Linked DNA regions of Homo sapiens: regions 1, 2, 3, 4, 6 and 7 are each linked to region 5. The links are contacts of gene promoters, found by promoter capture Hi-C in blood cells and fetal thymus (Javierre and others, 2016). All regions are on one chromosome and are shown on one strand. Each heading gives the region's core, a stretch centred on a gene start or on the middle of the fragment in contact. The rest is flanking DNA. Distances are from core to core; before and after follow the strand shown.

Region 1 (2,717 bases), core at 211-2,710, 420 kb after region 5:
AAGTGCTGGGATTATAGGTGTGAGCCACTGCACTCAGCCTGAAGATAAAATTATCTTTTCTCCTGACCCTTATTTTCTTCTTATTTTATGTGACATTTAATGCCTCTTTTATTTGTATCTCCCACTTCCCAATTTTACCTCTTCCCTTTAGTTCTTTCCCTCTTCTGATTTCATCATTTTGTTCAGTTTGTTGCAGGAGATCGGCAATTTGGTCCTTACTGTGGTCATGGATTCCCTGGGCCTCTAAATATTGAAACCAAGAGTAATGCTCTTGATATCATCTTCCAAACTGATCTAACAGGGCAAAAAAAGGGCTGGAAACTTCGCTATCATGGAGATCGTGAGTAACTTAGAAGTGCCTCTTTGGTTGGTGATACCAAAGTCCCCAAACAATGTGGGATCAAAGCAGGTAGATGATCCAGGCACACTGGAAGCACCTGTGATCTCAGCTACCGAGGGAGGCTGAGGCAGGAGGATCCCTTGAGCCCAGGAAGTAGGAGTTTGAGTCCACTCTGGGCAACAGAGCAAAACCTTGTCTCTAAAACAAAACAAAAACAAAGCAACAATAATTTAAAAAACAGATAGATTGTTGTTCTGATAGAATCCTGAGATACTTCACTTCTTCAGGAAAATCTAAACCAGTCAACGGTTGCTAGAAATGCCTCAACCTCTAGTAATCCTTTAACTAGACCTGAGACTGCAGACAGCTTGCGGGTGGTTAGTTGGTAATGCCATATGATTTTAGACATCTGCTGTATTGGAATGTTAAGCATCAGGATTGAGGACAACTGGACGATTTTAGAAAGTGTGAGAATGATGTAAATAGAATGAGAGTCTTCAACTATTTAGTAATTTTTTCCTCCTGTCCCAACTTCTGTTCTTTCAAGCAATGCCCTGCCCTAAGGAAGACACTCCCAATTCTGTTTGGGAGCCTGCGAAGGCAAAATATGTCTTTAGAGATGTGGTGCAGATAACCTGTCTGGATGGGTTTGAAGTTGTGGAGGTAAAGTACCACCTTGGCTTCTCCCCAGTCCCTGGCCCCAGATCAGGATGAGCGGACTGAAATTGTCCAGTTGTTTACCCAATGTATGTGTGTGATCAAGGTATAACACCTTTCCCATAAACACAACAGCTTAAGATCTGTAGTTCTCCCTTGTGAGTCATGGAGCTGCCTGGCCAGCTTGGCATTCTCTCTGCCTTCAGTCTTCTTGAGGAAGGGGAGTTGACACGTTGGGGCAAAGCTTTCTGTCAGCCTCATCTCCTGGGTGCTTTAGGTCTGCTAAGATGTTCCCAAGCTTCTTGTGGTGAGGACTCCTCATTGATCCAAGGCCAGAGATCAATTCCAGTTTTGATTTTGGTTTCCCATATCTCTCTTCAGAAATAAGTGGTGATGTTTATTATTCTCCAGGGACGTGTTGGTGCAACATCTTTCTATTCGACTTGTCAAAGCAATGGAAAGTGGAGTAATTCCAAACTGAAATGTCAACGTATGTGTCTCTTCAAAGTGGAAGTCTTTCTTTTTCTCTCAGAGAGAATGGAAAGATCAGCACATCAAAATTCAAATGCATGGTTTCCTCTTAGGCATGTGAGGGAGTGGGTTGGGTTTTTGAAGGGAAGCCAGTCATGGAAGCTTTTCTAGTCCCAGCCCCGCATCTGGTCCCAGGCCAACTAGATCGGCATGTTTCTTTCCAAGAAAGGGGCTATGGGATAGGTCGAGTTAGTAGCCCCACGTGGGTGCATTTGTGGCTTCCACTGGGCCTTCACCAACCACTGAGAACCAGGCTCTTCACTACGGCTTTCATGGGGCCATCTGAATTGGCATCTCAGCGGGTGAGAGAGCTGAGAGATGCCAGTTGGGGAGGATGGCCACAGAGAGGCTGGTGTGGGGAGGTTCATCCCAGGTGTGCCTGTGGATATGGGGTGGGGAAGCAGTGAGGATGAACCTGGCCCCATGACTCTTCCTTGGAGGAAGTGGCTGTCCTGACCATCGCTCTCCTTCCTTCGTCTGGTAGCTGTGGACTGTGGCATTCCTGAATCCATTGAGAATGGTAAAGTTGAAGACCCAGAGAGCACTTTGTTTGGTTCTGTCATCCGCTACACTTGTGAGGAGCCATATTACTACATGGAAAATGGAGGAGGTGGTAGGTTTCTTCTACTGGAGAAGAGAGAGAGAGAGTGAGAAGGTGTTGGAGGGTGGATAGCATAATCTGTGCCAGAGACAGAGTTTGGAGACAAATGAAGGCGATAGGACAGACATTGTTCATCCCCTTGGCTTCGTCCAAAGATACAGTTTTCATCTGGAGCAGGGCAAGTTCAGGGGAGCATCAGCCTCAGGGAATCATAGAGGTCACCAACTGAGTTCACAGCTGCAGCAGGAATTCCCCTACAACATCCATTTCATGGGATTACCCACCTTTTGACCAGTTATTTCATGTAAAACCCACAGGAGCAATGCCTTCAGCTTTAAGCCACCAAACTACACTGACTGGCTTTCTTGATGTAGAGGCTTTGGTCATGCTAGGTGCAGGGCTGAATGAGACCCTAATACGTTCTCTGCATTGCTCTGTATTTATTTCGCCACTTTCCCGATGCCTTCTTTCCTTCTGCTTTGGAGATGTTCCCTTTGTCTCCCTGGCAGGCTAGAGGCCTGAGGGATTGTTTGGAGGAAGATATTTTTTTTCTGGCTGATTTAATCTGATTTACTACTTGAATCCTAG
Region 2 (2,700 bases), core at 161-2,660, 370 kb after region 5:
ACCCTGCTTTGTATTATGGTCAGAAGTCTCTTTGTTTCATTAATGCTGCTTAATTTTCATCTAGCTTACCTTTGGTCTCTTTATATTGTGATTCCAGTGCTACCTGAAGAAAGCTTTCTGCACTGAATAATGGATTTTTTTCTGAAGGGCCAGACCTGACTTTGGTCCAAAGGGAACTAAACTGCAGGACCTCCTTTGATTTTAAAGGTCGCTAACTTTAGTGATGCTAATTCTGAACCTCTGAGGGATGAATTGTTACCCCCAGCTGCAATTTTTGATCAGTCTAACAGCCAAGCCACCATCATGGCCAAGACTAGGGAACACTCACAGTAAGCAGGGTGGCCATCTGCTCCATTTGGCCAGCTCTAGCTTTGGACACTGAGAGGTGGCTCATATACTGATTGCATCTTGGTTTAACCACTGAGAGTGAAAAGAGAAAAGGACACCAAGGGCATTTATCTTTTCCAGCCCCACATGCTCCTCCCAATCTCAGCGGTAAAGAGCAGGAACTCTGGAGTCAGGCAGAACTCAGTGTGACTTACTCAATCTTTGTAGGGCTGACTTTCCTATCTGTACCAGGAGATCTTAACAGCACTATAATTACCTCACGGGTAACTGGCAGGTTTAGGTGGGGAACTGCCTGTTGACCATTTAGGACAATGTCTGGTACACAGAAAATCCTTAATAAATGCCAGCTATTACTATTATCAAGGGGTAGCAACATTAACATACCCAATCAACGTGAATAAGATCCTCTTCTCTGTATAACCTTTTCCATGGCATTTCATTCCCTCCCTGAGTCAGTTATGATACCAATACTGTCTCCTAAAACTCTGTCTTTAGCCCAGCTTCTTTCCTGAGCTCAAGACCAGGCTTCACAACTCCCAAGATACCTGGAAGTGCCCTTGGAACCTAAAGTGAACCCCAAACCAGATCATTTCCTGGCACTTAAGAGTATCTGATCCTCCACTTGATCTCTGGCATTGGTCAAAGATACCCTTATCTTTCCAGCTACTCAGGCAGGAGGATGGAGTCTTTTTAAAATTACGACTTTATCCTCCAGCTAATAAGTTGCCAAGTCATTCATTCATACATTCACCTATTCAAGTATTTATCGAGCCTTTTCTACAAGCCAAGTAATGTGTTAAACTCTGGGTACACTGTGGTAAACAAAACTTCCATGGTTTCTGTCCTCATCTACAAATATATAATTACAAAGTGTAATATATACTTGGAAGGAAATTCCGGTCAGTATGAGAAAGTGTAACAGGGGACATAATTGAACATGAGAGTCAGGAAAGAACTCAGAGGAAGATGAAAAGGAGTTTGTCAGGTGACTGAAGGGCACTCCAGGCAGCAGGTAAGCGTGTGCAAAGGCTCTGAGGTAGGGAAGCCTTCATGCCTTTCCTGAGGAACTGAACAAAGGCCATGTGGCTAAAAGGTTGTCAGCTTGCTTGGGACGAGGCTGGGGCAGCAGGCAGGGGCTTACCAGCCAGGTATGGAAGCCCCTGAAGGGTTCTGAGCAGGAGAGGCACAGGATCGGATCACTCTGGCTGCTTTTGGAGAGTGGACTGAGGGGGCAAGAACAGAATTAGAGACTAGTCAGGAGGCTACTTGGGTGGTGCTGGTGACAGATGGTTAGTGGCTGTGGTGATGGAGAATAGTAGATGGATCTGAGACACAATCCAGAGGTTGTATTGATAGGATTGGGTGACTGGGATGTGGGGAGTGAGTGAAGAAAGGCAACAAAGCTGATTCTTGGGTTTCAGGCATGAGCAGCTGTGTAGATGACTGTGTCTACAGAATCTACCTTTCAAAAGGTTCCGGTATTCCTAGACCATCTCACAGGAGATGCCCACTTTCTCCTCTCAGCACAGCCACCCTGCCTCCAAGTCATTATAACTTCCTCTCTAGATCACTTCTTTCTCCTTAGTTTCCCTACTACTTGTCTATGCTGACTTCAAATCACCCCAGGCTGTATTATCTTTTTAAATACAGCTCCAGCCATATTATTCCCCACTCAAAAATCTCCAATGTTCCCTATCACCTACGTGAGTACTAACTCTTTACCTTGGCTTTAAAGGCTCTTTAACCTACAGTTCCAGCCTGATTTTCCATCACTTCTTTAAAGTCCTGTTTTAGTCACACTAGACTACTGACTGTTCCTTGGCTGTGTTGCCACATTCACACCTCAGTGCCTCTGCTCATGCTATTCCTTAAGTCTTACCATCTCAGCATGCTGAAACCTTACTCATCTTTAAATGAAATGTCCCATCTTTAAATCTCACAAAGCTCTGTACCTCTCTTATGGTGCTTAAAATTTATTGGGGTTATTAGTATACTTATCTCAGGCCCATTTCCTATACCCTAACAGACCATAATACCTTTGAGTGCAGGGCTCCTGACTCATACTACACCCACTGCTCCTGCCCTTGCAGGGTTAAGAATACTGCTTTACCTGTAGTAGGTGCATGTTACTGAATTTATATGAGCAATTCATGGTATTAGTTACATTAAGGAGTGATGAGATCCAAGCTGTTGAAGGGGAGATGTTTTCTGGTAGTATTTGCCAGCACCAGGGCTCATGGCAAAATTCCTCTTCAGCATCCTTCCATCAAACTCCTTGCAAGCATACACCACACAAACATAAACACACTCCTTTTACAGTCTTCTGACTGCTCAAAATACTCCAGTGCAGCA
Region 3 (2,880 bases), core at 40-2,539, 390 kb after region 5:
TTTTTTATAGAGACAGTGTCTCATTATGTTGCTCAGGTTGGTCTTGAATTCCTGGTCTCAAGCCATCCTCCTGCCTCAGCCTCCCAAAGTGCTGGGATTACAGGCGTGACCCACTGCACCTGGCCAGCATTCTTTTTTTTTTTTTTAAACTGTTGAACACTCTGTAATTATTAGGTAAAATTAATAGTACTTCACAATTATATATATCACTTTACAGTTTACAAAGTTACTAAGTAGACATTTGTTTTGATGCCCCAAAATAAAATTTAACTTCTTTGTCCTCCCTTCTCCCCTCCATCAAGGAAAGACTAAGGAACATTTAATCAGAAAAGGCAATATAAGTGCATCAATCTGTACAGAACTGCAAAGAATAAAGGGGAGGAGGGTAGGACCCTGAAGAGGGCCACAGGGACTTCAGGAAGGAGAAAACCAGAGTGTTAAACGTGAGGAAAGCCCAGGGGTGACAGGGAGTTAACCACCATAAGGGGCAGGTTGTATTCACTACATAAAAGGAGGGGCACACGGCATATGTTTCACATTCTAAAATAATATGACAATATCATAACTGAAGAGCTGAAGTTGAATTTTGTGGTTTCTCAGAACACAAGTAGAAGATGACCACCAACCATGGTTTCTGAATAAACTGAGTTCAAAGTGCATCTGGTTGCAGCAGGGGGCTTCCTTGGACTCTGATACTAGAAATTTAACAAAGGTAATTCGAGGAGCTGCGATTTTACATAGTGGTGGCATCCTAGGGGGCATCTATCGCATCAGTTAAGTTTAATATCTGGCAATCATGGAAAAGGAGTTTCTGAGCAGGTAATACTTGGGCCATCTCTTGGAGATTCCTGCTGTAAGGACTAAGTTTCTCCAGAGAAAGCACTTGCCTGGGTATGACTCAGGGCCGGGCAAAAATTCACACTATGAATCTGGTGGAAGGGGGAGAAGTATGCCTGGTGGGACCACATTCCCATAATTCTCTAACCTCACATCTCTGTAGAGTTCCCTCTGAACAAGGTCCAGGTATCTCCATTCCTCTTGAGTAAGGTGCACAGCCACATCCTCAGATGTCACAAACTGCTGATACCTGGCTGTCAGGAGCGCAGCTGCCTGATCTCCTGGGCTGTCCTCATGGGGAAAGGCAGGCACCTGGGGAACAGGTGGAACCCTAGTGAGTCCCTGTTCCATGTCGGTGTCCTGCACAAAATGAGGCTTTGGAGTCAGACTCTCAGACTGGGTCTCCAAAAACTGAAATCGGACCCTTGGTGAGCCTGCTGCTTCCTGGGCTGGTATTTTCTCCATCCCTGTTCTGGAGGACAATGACCGTCGCAGCTTGCATCAGGACATGGCCACTGGGTCCTGATGGCGAGGCCCGCCCTCGGTCTGTGGGGTGAACTGGGGCTGAAGAGAAATAGGCCTTTGCACCCAAGCATCTGCACACTCTTGGGGAAGGAAACCACTGTCCCATATTCTTTACATTATCCTTGTCATTTAGGATCTCCAGGATTGGCTTCAGTGTTAATGATTCTTTGTCATTATTTTCCTGTAAGAGTGCCCTTTTATCTAAAGATTTCAGTTCATTTATTTGACAGAAATCTTCAACCATATATATAAAAATATATAAATATATATATATACTTTTTTTTGGTGACAGAGTCTCATTCTGTCACCCAGGCTGGAGTGCAGTGGCGTGATCTCAGCTCACTGCAACCTCCGCCTCCCAAGTTCAAGCGATTCTCCTGTCTCAGCCTCTGGAGTAGCTGGGATTACAGGTGTGCACCACCACACCTGGCTAATTTTTGTATTTTTAGTAGAGATGGGGTTTCACCATGTTGGCCAGGCTGATCTTGAACTCCTGACCTCAGGTAATCTGCCTGCTTTGGCCTCCCAAAGAGCTGGGATTACAGGCGTGAGCCACCATGCCCATACTCAACCATATCTTTGAATACTTTCCCATTCCAGTTGTTATATTCTTTTCTCAAAACACCAATCATGTATCTCCTTGATCCATTTTCATCAGCGTCTCTGCGATTTTATCCCTTTGCACTTTTCCATTTTGTTTTGGGTGATTTTTTTCAAGACTGGCCTCCATGTACTATCTATGTTTTCATAGTATGTATTTGACTTCTTGCTGTTTCTATAATGAACTTTTCATTTTTGTGGTGGCTTTCCTGTTATTTCCAATTTCTCAGTTAAGTTCTACCACATCACTTTTTTCTCTCTAAAAATATGCATCTGTTATTCTCCCTTGTATCTTTTTTTTGAAAAAGTCCATGCTTTAACTTTTGTGAGTATAGAAAAAATATGTCTGACATCTTTCTTCTGCTTGCTGGAATAACTTTCTAAAAATAGACTTTATTTTTATAGGGCAGTTTTAGATTTACAGAAAAATTGAGCGTATAGTACAGAGAATTCCCATACAGCTCCTACACGGTTTCCCCATTATTAATGTCTACATTAGGGTGGAACATTTGTTACAATCATGGAAGTGATGTTGATACATTACTATTAACTAATGTCCATAATTTATTCAGATTCCCTTAGTTTTTACCTAATGTCGTTTTCCTGTTCCAGGGCCTCCTCCAGAATACCACATTACGTTTAGTTTTCATGTCTCCTAGGCTCCTCCTGGCTGTTACACTTTCTCAGACCTTCCTTGATTATGATGACCTCGAAGTTTTGAGGAGTACTGGGAAAGAGTATTATAGGATGCCCCCTACTGGAATTTGTCAGATGTTTTTCTCATGATTATACAGGGATTATGGCTTTTGGGGAGGAAGATCTCAGAGGTAAGTGCCATTCTCGTCTCATTGTATTACCATTATTTATTTATTTTTTAATTTTTATTTTTTGAAATGGAGTCTCACCCTGTCGCCCAGG
Region 4 (2,743 bases), core at 13-2,512, 280 kb after region 5:
ACTGCCGGGGAAGGGGCGGGGGCCGCGGGCGAGGCGGCCGAGGGGCCCGGGATCGCGCGGGTGCGGGCTGCGCTAGGCGGGCGCGGGCGGCGGCGGGTCGGAACCGCGCCGAGGGCCGGGCGGGCCGCGGGGCCGGGCGGCGCGGCGGGGGCGGGCGGCGCGGCCCGGGGCATTCCGGGCGGCCAGGGGGAGGCGGCGAGCCCGGGGAGGTGGGGAGCAGAGCGGGGATCGGGGTTTGCTCCGGGGGCCGGCGGGCGATTGGGGCCAGGCGGGGAAAAGGGGGGATGGGGGCCGCCCTCCGGGGGGGTCGGGGCCGCCGCCGCCGTCGTCGCGGCGGCGACTGAGGCCGAGAAGAGGAGAGGGGGGCGGGGGAGCTGCCGCCGCCGCCCCCCAGAGGCGCCGGAGCCCGGAATCCCGCTCGGAGCCAGCCAGCCGTCCCGAGCTACCAGCAGGTAAGGTCTGCGGCCGCCTGGGCCCCGGGCCCGCGGGGTTCTGTCCCGCCCGGGCTCCGGCCTGCGGCTCCCCACCCCCACCCCTCCCAGTTCCCCCTCCTGCCGCCGCCGCCTCCATTTGTTATTTTCCCAATCCCGTCCCCCCACTGCGGGCTCTGCCTGGCCTGAGGGCCGGGGGCTCAGGGGGTGGGGCCCGCCGAGGAGAGTCGGGGGCCAGGGTTTCGGGAGGATCGGGAAGGTGGGGAAGGAGGGAGGGTCTCCGGAGGAGGCCTGTGGGGCCAGAGGGTATCCGGGACCCGCAGACTCAAAAGAGGAGGAACATCGAGGCCGGGGTTGGCGGAGGAAAACGGGGGATGCTGTGAGTGGGGTTCCGGGCGAAGGCAGAATGGATAGGAGAGATGGCAGCGAGGTGGGGCATGAAGCCTCCAGGAAAAAGCTCCAAAGGACCAGAACACGGGTTCCGGAGCCTGGGGTTGGGGGCTTTAGGAATAGACGGGAAGTGGGAAACGGGAAAGGGGTGTGGTAGGTGGAAAGAGGGATTGTGGCTGATGAACCTGGGGGAGACGGAGGCTTGGGCAAAGAGAGGTCCATTTTTGAGAAGAGCCGGAGGTTTTCCAGCGTGGAAGAGGGAAGGCCATGTCTTTGTGACGGTTTTCATTCCCCTACTGCAGGTCACCTCTGACCCTGTTTTCCCTATCCCAGACATAGTTATTTCTTGGAGAGGGCACTGGGGCCCAGTAGTGTGGGTTATCCCAAAACTAGTGAGGAGGAAAACAGGAACACAGAAGGGGGAGTTGGGAAGAAAGGGGTTCTGGGAGGATGGAAATGGAGAATTGAGCAACCTTACAGGCACTCCAGGCAAGTTGCGACCTCCACCCTCCACCCTCCAATTTCCGGAGCGTCCGCTGCCCCTGGAGCTGTGATCTATATAGGGAGGCCTTAGTTACTGCTTTGAGCTCAAAGATCTCCCTTTGTGCATGGGCTTATTTTGACTAGGGTAGGTACCTTCAAGCTCCCTTACCTGAGGTGCTATAGGAGGGTAGGAGTTGCTTTGGCAACTGGGGTAGGGGGTAGCTGCCAGATGGACACCTGGGATGGTCTCTTGAGGGGCACCTTTTGCCACTGTGTTGCTATGGTAGTGATCCAGTGGGATGTCAGATTGGTTGGGGGGGCTTCGAATGTTTATTGGACCTCAGCCTGTGGCTGTCCTTGGGACTCTGGGCTGGGTTTTGGAGGTTGTTTCTGGATCTGTTGGTGGTTGGGAGTTTCCCCACGGTGTGCACCCTTTCATGTTGAAGTCTGTTGGAACAGGTAGATACGTTCCTTGCAGATCATAGGTGTTTCTCCAAGTCTCTCCACCTGGGCATGATGGGAGGATGAAAACGCTTCTGTTCAGGTTACACCATCTTTTGGCAGTTGGTTCTGACCTCTACCTCCCTTATTATGTTATTTTTTGTAGAGTTGTCTTTTTGCTTCTTTGCACTTTCTTTCATTTTCTAAAACTTGAATTCCTCTTTGAGCCTCCCTTCTTGAGTAACCCTTTTCCTCTTTCCCTCAACTAACCTTTGGCCTTCTTCCCTGACCTTGTAGAAATGGCTGGGCTCCCAGGCCCATCCCAGGTGAGGGTGGCCCAGGACAGAGGGCTGTGAAACAGCTTCATGCAGGGGAAATACTATAGAACAGGAGCCAGGAGACCTGTGTCTAGACCTGGCTGTGCCTCTGTGACCTTGGGCAAGTCACTTCTCTTTGAGCCTGGGCTTCATTGTTAAGATGAAGGGGCTATAGATGAGATGATCTCTGAGGCCTCTCTGAAGGTCCCGGATTCTCAGAAGGCTTAGGCCAGTGCATCGTTATCTGCTGGTCTGGGCTGCATTGTTATCTAGGAGTCACTTTGGACTGGTTTGTTAGTCTGGCAGGTCCAGAATGATGTTGGGGGCTGGGCCAATGATCCTGAAATTTAGCCTGCGAGCCCCTCCCAGAGAGCTTGTGACTCCACTGTATTCCTTCTGACATCCCATATTTCTCTCTTAATTTCTTTTCCTGTTCTTACTTAGGGGCTCTTTTTCTAGTTCTCACTTTCCTCCCAACCCAGTCTGGTCTTAATCATTTTCTTTTTAAAGTAAGGTAATGGCAGTGCGCAGTGGCTCACGCCTGTAATCCCAGCACTTTGGGAGGCTGAGGCGGGCGGATCACGAGGTCAGGCGATTGAGACCATCCTGGCTAACACGGTGAAACCCCGTCTCTAGTAAAAATACAAAAAAATTAGCCGGGCGTGGTGGCGGGCGCCTGTA
Region 5 (2,866 bases), core at 346-2,845:
TTTTTAGTAGAGACAGAGTTTCACCGTGTTAGCCAGGATGGTCTCGATCTCCTGACCTCATGATCTGCCTGCCTCGGCCTCCCAAAGTGCTGGGATTACAGGCGTGAGCCACCGCACTCGTCCCTGTTGTTGTTTTTTTTTGAGACACAGTCTTGCTCTGCCACTCAGGATAGGGTGCAGTGGCATGATCTCGGCTTACTGCAACCTTTGCCTCCCGGGTTCAAGCAATTCTCCTGCCTCAGCCTCCCGAGTAGCTGGGATTACAGGCGCCCATCACCAAGCCCGGCTATTTTTTTTTTTTTTTTTTGTATTTTTAGTAGAAACGGGGTTTCACCATGTTGGCCAGGCTGGTCTCGAACTCCTGACTTCAGGTGATCTGCCCATCTCGGGCTCCCAAAGTGCTGAGATTACAGGCATGAGCCACCATGCCCAGTCTCTTCTCTACTTTTCTTGCAGTAACAGAATTGTTCAATCTGAATATCCAAGGTGAGACTGTATTCATATATAATCTGGGTAAATGACTGGCAAAATGGCAGGGAAGGAGGAGCTAAGGATGACTCTCCTGGAACCCTTCCTCAACTCCCCACTGCTGCCGCCTCTCCCTTGGCCCTGGGGCACCAAATCCAACCTTTGTCCTGGGCCTCACCTTGGCATAGTAGACGTGGTTGGAGCAACGGTAGTGAGTGAACTGGCAGAAAGACTCAAACCAGGAGGCATAAGGGAGGTTGGAGCAGACAGCACCTGAGAAAGGGCAGGGGTGGAGAAGATGAACCCGTGGGGAGCTTGGGGTGGGGCTGTGGGCAATGGACTCCACGCCATGGGGAGGGTGGAGAGTACGAGCTCATGGTGTGGTGCCAGCCATGCCCTTCCCCGCCTCACATGAGCACAGGGGTTTTTGCCCTGAGGTTTGGGTGAACACTCTGGGTGCCTCGGTTTCCCCCCTAGTCTGGCCCTCACCATCGGGCACTAAGCCGTGGTTTTCATATTGGTCCAGCTGGACGAGTGTGGGATTCCGGCAGCCGTGGGTTGCACGGAGACGGCAGGTAGTCTCTGCCTTCCAGGTTGGAGTCAGCAGTGCGAAGAAGCGTTCGTATTCGGTAGGAGAGAGAGGGCTGCCTGGAGTGGAGGCCTGAGTCGAATCCTGGGCTGCGGCAGGTGCCAGAGGCAGGAGCAGCACTGCGGAGCGGGCGAACGGATGATGGAAGGACCGAACCCCAAAACCCGCTCCGAGACCAGGACAGACAGACCCAGACTGGCAAATTAGGAACGGGGTGAGGGTTATCCCTGCTGACCAGGGCGGGGGGAGTCTAGAGACAGAGGCAAAGGTCCGGCCGCGGGCGGGGGGAGATGGGAGTATCCCAGGACCTAGGGAGCCGACCCAGCGCGACCACCATGAGGAAGCGATCCAGAAACCGTAAAAGCAGAGCTCTCGGGAGGGAGAGGACTAGCCCGGGGAGAGTCTGTTGGAGCAGGTGTAAACCTCTCACCCTTCAGGAGTGAGGGAAGGAAGCCAGCGGCTGGCTTCCTCATGGCCGGAGAAGATCCGCCCGCGTCCCGTGGACACAAGCCGCCTCTAACGGGCCAAGCCGCAGAGAGAGCCGCAGGCGCGGGGCGGGGCGCACGCGGGCACCGCCCACGCGTCACAAAGAGCGGGCCGGGGCGGGGCCTCGACAGCCGGGCTCTCAGGGCCCTAAAGTGGCCAGAGCCCATCCAGATGGTAGGAATGGCAAACAGCTACCTTCACTTAGCGTCTTTTTCTTTTTTTTTTGAGACGGAGTCCTACTCTGTCGCCCAGGCTGGAGTGCAGTGGTGCGATCTCGGCTCACTACAACCTCGGCGTCCCAGGTTCAAGTGATTCTCCTGCCTCAGCCTCCCGAGTAGCTGGGACTATAGGTGCACGCCACCACGCCCAGCTAATTTTTGTATTTTTAGTAGAGATGGTATTTCACCATGCTGGCCAGATGGTCTCGATCTCTTGACCTTGTGATCCGCCCACCTCGGCCTCCCAAAGTGCTGGGATTACAGGCGTGAGCCACCATGCCCGGCCTAATTTTTGTATTTTTAGTAGAGACTGGGTTTCACCATGTTGGCCAGGCTGGTCTTGAACTCCTGACTTCAAATGATCTGCCCACCTCGGCCTCCCAAAGTGCTGGGATTACAGGTGTGAGCCACCGTAGCCAGCCACTTAGCATCTTTACATGCACTACCTTACGTAATTGCCATAGGAATCCCATAAGGTAGATACACTATCATTCGTTTTACAGATGAGAAATCGGGGCTTAGGGAAGCAACTCGCCCAACAAACAGGTCGTGAGGTCTAGAGCTAAGCGCAGGCAGAGATAGAATGTGCAAAACCAAGTCAAGGCCTATCTGGGTAGGAACTAGACAGGGCGCCTCCATGAGCAAAATGGGTCCAAGGGGAAAACAAGAGGGTGGCTCAGTGGTCTACGAAAGTGGTTTCCAAGGGAGAATCGAGTAAGACAGTCCACTGAGGTATGGGAGGAGAACTTTTGCTTTTGTATCTGTTTTGTGTTTAAAATGAGAAATTCCAGCCTGGGCAACAGGGCGAAACCTCGTCTCTACAAAAAGTACAAAAAATTAGCCAAGCGTGGTGGCACGTGCCTGTAGTCCCAGTTTCTTGGGGGGCTGAGATGGGAGGATCGCTTGAGCCCATGAGGCCAAGGCTGCAGTGAGGTGCAATCGGGCCACTGCTCTCCAGCCTGGGTGACAAAGTGAGACCCTGTCCCCACCCAAAAGCAAAAGTAAAAAAGAAAAATAAAACAAGAAATTGTCTTGGGCCAGACTTGGTGGCTCACGCCTGTAATCCCAGCATTTGGGAAGTCAAGGCGGGTGGATTCCTTGAGCC
Region 6 (2,898 bases), core at 331-2,830, 470 kb after region 5:
GTAGAGAGCAGCTCTGTGAGTAGAAGGAGAAGGATCCTGCCCTGGAGAGGGCCTGGCTGGTCCTCACCTGGGGCCTATCATTTAGTAACAGGGCTTCTGGAAGTGGTAGCAGATCTGGGCCTGGTGGGCATTCTGCTTCTCCTGGGTGGCAGCAGAAGTCCCTAGGTGGCAGGCTGGGGACTGCCCAAAGGTTCTGACTCAGGAAGAGCACAGTGGAACAGAAAGCCCTTGTACCACCTTCGCTGCTGTATTCGTCCATTCTCACACTGCTGTACAGAACTACCTGAGACTGGGGAATTCATGAAGAGAAGAAGTTTAATTGACTCACAGTTCTGCGGGCTTAACAGGAAGCATGACTGGGAGGCCTCAGGAAGCTTATAATCATGGCAGAAGGCGAAGGGGAAGCAAGGACCTTCTTCACATGGCAGCAGGAGAAAGAGAAGAAGGGAGAAGTCTACACACTTTTAAACAACCAGATCTCATGAGAATTCCATCGGGAGACAGCACTAGGGGGATGGCACTAAACCATTAGAAACTGCCCCCATGATCCAATCACCTCTCACCAGGCCCCTCCTCCAACACGTGGGGATTACAATTCCACATGAGATTTGGTTGGGGACATAGAGCCAAATCCTATCAGCTGGTATCCTCCTTTTTCCAGGCTTTAGATATGGCACAACCTGATGGCTTCTGCATAAAGCCTCCTCTCATCTGCATCTCTCCACCTCACTCACCCTCTTTTCAGCAAAGAACCCTCTGGCTCTAGTTTCACTGTGGTGGTCCTGGGAGAGGTAGAGAAGACCCAGAGGCTCCTTACCCTGGGAGGTCAAACTGACCATCCAGGTTTGGCTCTTCCCTGCTGGTGTGTCTAGAACACCATCTTCCCCTTATTGCTGTGGACTTCAGGGCTCTGCTGCTCTGTCCTCCACAGAACTTGTCAATCAGCTTCCTACCAGCTAAGATCTGGTGCTGTCTGATATATCCTCCCTGCGGCTTGTCACTCATGCTGTCTAATGGCGTGAGGTGCATTGAGTTGTATTCTGATGTCTTTGTCCTTTTGAAGCCACAGAGTAAGGTCACACAACTTTGAAACGAGCAGGGTACCATCTGAAGATGCTGGACATTCCTTTTAACAATTACCTAGGGGAGAGGCAGTCCTCAGACAGGACTCAGGTGGGTGGGCCTCAAAGAGGAAGGGAAAGGGGGCAGCTGCCTGCCTCTGAACTTCACTCTCTAGACTCGTGGAAGGGTCTAGCTTAGAGCTAGGATGGGAGGGCTGTGAGCACTGAGGATGGAGTCATGCCTTTTTGTGACTGGACACATTTTTACTGCCCGAAGTCATCTACTGCCCCCACCCCCCAACCCCATTCTTCTGCCCACTTAGCGAATATTGAGGTTATGGTCAGGATGGGGTCATTTGCAATGAAATTCAAGGTTGAGACTATGTTGCAGTTATCTGTCTGCTTGTAAAAAGTCACCCCCACATTTTGTTTAAAACAGCAAGTATGTACTATTTCACACAGTTTCTGTGGGTCAGGAATCCAGAAGCGGCTGAGATGGGTAGTTTAGGATCAGGGTCTCTCACAAGGCTTTGGTCCAGGTGCAGGCTGCAGTCCTCCAGAGGCGGGACTGGGGCTGGAGGTCTGCTTCCAGACGGTCACTCACATGGATGTGGGCAGGCGGCCTCAGTTCCCTGCCACATGGCCCTCCTCATAGGACGCTTGAGTGTCCTCGCGGCATAGCAGCTGGCTTTCCCCAGAGTGACCCAAGGTGGAAAGAACAAGGCAGAGGTGACAGTGTCTTTTATAAGCCAGCCTTGGAAGTGACGTAGCATCATTTCTGCCTTATTCCATTGGTCACACAGACAACCCGATGTGGAAGGAGACATCACAAGGACAGGAATACTGGGAAGCAGGTATTGTTGGTGGCTGTCTCGGACGCTGGTTCTCATAGAAGTAGATGTATTATTTTAGTACAATAAGTGCAGACGATCAGCTAGCAGGATGTTATTTTTGCTGGGTATGGTTGTATTTCAGGTGCATTTACCCAAATCCAGAGTACCTTTGGGGGCTCTGACCCTCTCCTCCTCCACCTTGAGATCTGTAGAGGCCTCTCGTTCATCCCACCAAGAGCAGGACTGGACAGATGAAAGCATGGCTTACAGGAGGCCAACACAATAGGAGGTAGGGCTTTGGGAAGACAGCATAGGTTTCAAAAGAACCAAGAAGCTGTTGAAAAGGAGAGCAGATGGGCAGGGAAGACAAGTCCCAGATAGAATGCCCTTTGCAACCTAGGGGGAGCTGACCACAGTGTGCATCCTGACACTCGAAGACAAGGTCTCCATCAGCAGATTGCCCAACAGAACAAGTTCAGAGCCCAGAGATCCCAGTTCCAGATCTCAGATCTCCCACACCCTGTGGGCTCTGTGTGGACTTTCGTCCTGAAACAAAGTCCTTTAGTAAAGGACTCTTTAAATTCACTCCATCTGTGCTTTGCTTGCCAATAGCAGGGTGCGTCTGTTACATACTGGACTATCCCTTCCTTCAATATGTTCATGGCTGAGGCTGCATTTGTGCCTCAGATAATCAAGGTGAGTATAACTCTCTGTTCTGTTTCCCTTTTGTTTCCTCCAAGACTTTAATAAACCCTCATTCAAGAGGCCCACCTTGTCCCACCTGTGCTTCTCAGAAAAGAAGGAGTGGTGGGGAGACAGGCTGGGGTGGGGGCTTTGCCACCTGGCTGCCCCTTCACCTGTGGGTTCTTGCTCCAATGAGGACCCAGCAGGATAAGCTTTAGTTTCATTAAGGGTGACAATAGTTTCCTTACAGCTGGGTCAAGGATATGAGCGAGCCTCTTCCGAAAACAGCCGGGAAGGGAGAGGAATCCAAGAGGAGGAGC
Region 7 (2,870 bases), core at 371-2,870, 330 kb after region 5:
TAAAGTGTTGGGATCACAGGCATAAGCCACCACACCTGGCTACTTTGTCTTGATTCCATCTGTACCTTTGCTCATGCCAGTCTTTCTTTTTTCTTTTTTTTGAGACAGGGTCTTGCTGGAGTGCAGTGGTACAGTCTTGGCTCACTGCAATCTCTGTCTCCTGGGCTCAAGCCATCCTCCCACCTTAGCCTCCCAAGTAGCTAGGACTACAGGCATGTGCCACCATGCCCAGCTAATTTTTGTATTTTTAGTAGAGATGGGGTTTCGCCATGTTGCCCAGGCTGGTCTTGAACTCCTGACCTTAAGTGATTTGCCTGCCTTGGCCTCCCAGAGTGCTGGGATTACAGCCGTGAGCCACTGCATCTGCCCCCATGCCCGTCTTAAAACTGGGAATAACCCCTCTTCCTTTTACTTCTGAGAGTTTTCTTTGATTAAACTGCCTCCTGCATCATTAGTTTTCACATTTCTTTTTTTTGAGATGGAGTCTCGCTCTGTTGCCCGGGCTGGAGTGCAGTGGCGCTGCAAGCTCCGCCTCCTGGGTTCATGCCATTCTCCTGCCTCTGCCTCCCAAGTAGCTGGGACTACAGGCGCCTGCCACCATGCCCGGCTAATTTTTTATATTTTTAGTAGAGATGGGGTTTCACCGTGTTAGCCACGATGGTCTCAATCTCCTGACCTTGTGATCTGCCCGCCTCGGCCTCCCAAAGTGCTGGGATTACAGGCGTGAGCCACCACGCCCGGCCTTCACATTTCTTGTTCAGATTTGCAGCTCTTCACTTAGTGCATGTTTGGTGTACGCAAACTGAGGGTGGTGACTCGATATTTTGCACAGTACCTACTTACTGCTCCTGTAATAAACACAGCATTCAGCCTTGCTAACTACTAACTCCTGCCTAGTTCCAGGATGTCTCATTGGCCTTGCCTAACAGCCACAGGTTTTTTAATTAAATCCAGTGTATTAGTAGATAATGTGAAGTCACAGGTTGTGCCCTTCCTCCTGTTTCCCTCTCAGACCATTCACTGGGGAGTGCAAATAAGGCTGCACAGTAATCCCCCGAAGGGCTTGCTGGGCTCCACCCCCAGTGTTCCTGGTTTAGTAGGTCTAGGGTGGGCCTGAGAATTTGCCTAACAAGTTTCCAGGTGCAGCTGCTGCTGGTAGTTTGGGGACCACACTTGAAGAACCACGGGGCTAGGTAACAGAAGCTTATGCTGTTCTCTCGTCATGTTCCCTGTTCTTCAGGTAGGGAAGACATATGAGCTACTCAACTGTGACAAGCACAAGTCTATATTGTTGAAGAATGGACGGGACCCTGGGGAAGCGCGGCCAGATATCACCCACCAGGTAACTCCAGGGACAGTGCTCACAACCCTTTGAGCCTCTGTATGGAAGGGTTGGCAGCTGAGTGCTGCCTCTCTTCAGCCTTAACCATGTCTCGGTTTCTGCTTTGCTCAGAGTTTGCTGATGCTGATGGATAGTCCCCTGAACCGAGCTGGCTTGCTACAGGTTTATATCCATACACAGAAGAATGTTCTGATTGAAGTGAATCCCCAGACCCGAATTCCCAGAACCTTTGACCGCTTTTGTGGCCTCATGGGTAAGAAGCCTTAGAACAAAGTTAGAATGAACTTGTCAGTAGGGAAGAAGGGAGGAAGAGGAAAAGGGAGAACTAAATGTGGATTTTTAAGCGAGAAAATGGGAGAACAACATGATTAATACCAGGACAAGGACTGTTATTATTTTTCTATGTTTGTGGAAACTCCACTCCTGTTCTTGCAGTAGCTTCCTGGCTGAGTGAAAGAGGGAGTCTGAACCCATCACTGTACAGCTAGCCATATGCTTGGCAACTGTTTGTTCCTAACATTTCAGGAGTCCAGTCTAGATATAAAGCACACAGGGAACTCATCTTATCCATGGGGTTTTCCTTGTTCGATGACTGGACAGAAGGACTGTGGTCTCCATCTAGCTCTGAACTCTTTTTTCCCCCTTCTAGTTCAACTTTTACACAAGCTCAGTGTTCGAGCAGCTGATGGCCCCCAGAAGCTTTTGAAGGTGAGGTATTGAAACCTGTTAGTTGAAGGCTGGTTCTGGGAATGTTTCTGGGGCTGACTTTTCTCTCTTTTTTACTTTAGGTAATTAAGAATCCAGTATCAGATCACTTTCCAGTTGGATGTATGAAAGTTGGCACTTCTTTTTCCATCCCGGTTGTCAGTGATGTGCGTGAGCTGGTGCCCAGCAGTGATCCTATTGTTTTTGTGGTAGGGGCCTTTGCCCATGGCAAGGTAAGGTCTGGGCTCAACCCTGAAATTCTTGGTAGAGCTGAACTTAGTATAGAATTCCCAGAGCAGTAGGCATTTTAACAATGCTTACAATGAGCTAGAAGACACATGACAGTTCCACACCCTGCCCCAGGGCACATCCTTTGAGGGCTGCTGCCATAATTGGAAGTCACAGTTAGGACCTTCTTCATCCTTTGTAGGGATTTGATATTCAACAGCACAGCTGAAATACTAGCTCAGCCATAGTTTTCCTGCCCTAAAGAAGGGCTGAAACAGCTACTGAGTGACAGAGTTGGCTGACAAAACTGTTCTTTTCTTAGGTCAGTGTGGAGTATACAGAGAAGATGGTGTCCATCAGTAACTACCCCCTTTCTGCTGCCCTCACCTGTGCAAAACTTACCACAGCCTTTGAGGAAGTATGGGGGGTCATTTGACAGTAGTAGAACCTGTTCTGAAACCAGAAACTGTTGATGTCACATCCTTTGACCCTGGTCTGAGCTGACTGCTGGAAGATGATCTTTCTGCACTGAGACTGTGGAGTTTGGGGAAGCCAAGGCTGTACATTTGCTATTTGTTTATCCTATGAATACTGT

What was found. Contacts are between HindIII fragments. The CHiCAGO score rates a contact against its expected background, and 5 or more counts as called.
Region 1: a fragment that was not itself captured here is called in contact with the fragment with the promoter of ACRBP in region 5 in 4 of 17 cell types (non-activated CD4 T cells, activated CD4 T cells, total B cells and 1 more); the score reaches 6.4 in non-activated CD4 T cells.
Region 2: a fragment that was not itself captured here is called in contact with the fragment with the promoter of ACRBP in region 5 in 5 of 17 cell types (activated CD4 T cells, non-activated CD4 T cells, total CD4 T cells and 2 more); the score reaches 13.1 in activated CD4 T cells.
Region 3: a contact is called between a fragment that was not itself captured here and the fragment with the promoter of ACRBP in region 5, in 1 of 17 cell types (activated CD4 T cells). The highest score is 6.0, in activated CD4 T cells.
Region 4: a fragment that was not itself captured here is called in contact with the fragment with the promoter of ACRBP in region 5 in 9 of 17 cell types (non-activated CD4 T cells, naive B cells, activated CD4 T cells and 6 more); the score reaches 11.2 in non-activated CD4 T cells.
Region 6: a fragment that was not itself captured here is called in contact with the fragment with the promoter of ACRBP in region 5 in 10 of 17 cell types (activated CD4 T cells, non-activated CD4 T cells, total CD4 T cells and 7 more); the score reaches 12.9 in activated CD4 T cells.
Region 7: a fragment that was not itself captured here is called in contact with the fragment with the promoter of ACRBP in region 5 in 10 of 17 cell types (non-activated CD4 T cells, activated CD4 T cells, total CD4 T cells and 7 more); the score reaches 20.5 in non-activated CD4 T cells.

Annotation. Positions count from the first base shown.
Region 1 is chr12:7,065,631-7,068,347 of GRCh38, forward strand. It overlaps C1S (complement C1s), which reads left to right. Exons shown (of 12, transcript NM_001734.5): 7 at 187-340; 8 at 888-1,003; 9 at 1,409-1,487; 10 at 2,013-2,141. Among named protein-coding and RNA genes, the nearest start is that of C1S, 6.3 kb to the left of the region's middle. The HindIII fragment of the contact is 335 bases long and covers 1,294-1,628 here.
Region 2 is chr12:7,011,846-7,014,545 of GRCh38, forward strand. All of the region lies in intron 1 of LPCAT3 (lysophosphatidylcholine acyltransferase 3), which reads right to left. Among named protein-coding and RNA genes, the nearest start is that of LPCAT3, 5.3 kb to the right of the region's middle. The HindIII fragment of the contact is 2,598 bases long and covers 112-2,700 here.
Region 3 is chr12:7,040,340-7,043,219 of GRCh38, forward strand. It overlaps the pseudogene LOC100419825. Among named protein-coding and RNA genes, the nearest start is that of C1S, 19 kb to the right of the region's middle. The HindIII fragment of the contact is 6,449 bases long and covers 1-2,880 here.
Region 4 is chr12:6,927,933-6,930,675 of GRCh38, forward strand. It overlaps ATN1 (atrophin 1), which reads left to right and starts at 27. Exons shown (of 10, transcript NM_001940.4): 1 at 27-452. RefSeq lists a silencer at 1-25. The HindIII fragment of the contact is 3,716 bases long and covers 1-2,743 here.
Region 5 is chr12:6,645,837-6,648,702 of GRCh38, forward strand. It overlaps ACRBP (acrosin binding protein), which reads right to left and starts at 1,596. Exons shown (of 10, transcript NM_032489.3): 1 at 1,488-1,596; 2 at 958-1,176; 3 at 647-741. The coding sequence starts at 1,530. RefSeq lists enhancers at 1,017-1,530, 1,454-1,523. The HindIII fragment of the contact is 16,958 bases long and covers 1-2,866 here.
Region 6 is chr12:7,115,439-7,118,336 of GRCh38, forward strand. It overlaps C1RL-AS1 (C1RL antisense RNA 1), which reads left to right. Exons shown (of 12, transcript NR_026947.1): 8 at 1-2,898. It also overlaps a transcript of RBP5 not described here. Among named protein-coding and RNA genes, the nearest start is that of C1RL, 7.7 kb to the left of the region's middle. The HindIII fragment of the contact is 2,416 bases long and covers 373-2,788 here.
Region 7 is chr12:6,973,099-6,975,968 of GRCh38, forward strand. It overlaps EMG1 (EMG1 N1-specific pseudouridine methyltransferase), which reads left to right. Exons shown (of 6, transcript NM_006331.8): 2 at 1,241-1,342; 3 at 1,454-1,595; 4 at 1,992-2,050; 5 at 2,131-2,280; 6 at 2,598-2,870. The coding sequence ends at 2,711. Among named protein-coding and RNA genes, the nearest start is that of EMG1, 3.6 kb to the left of the region's middle. The HindIII fragment of the contact is 838 bases long and covers 1,202-2,039 here.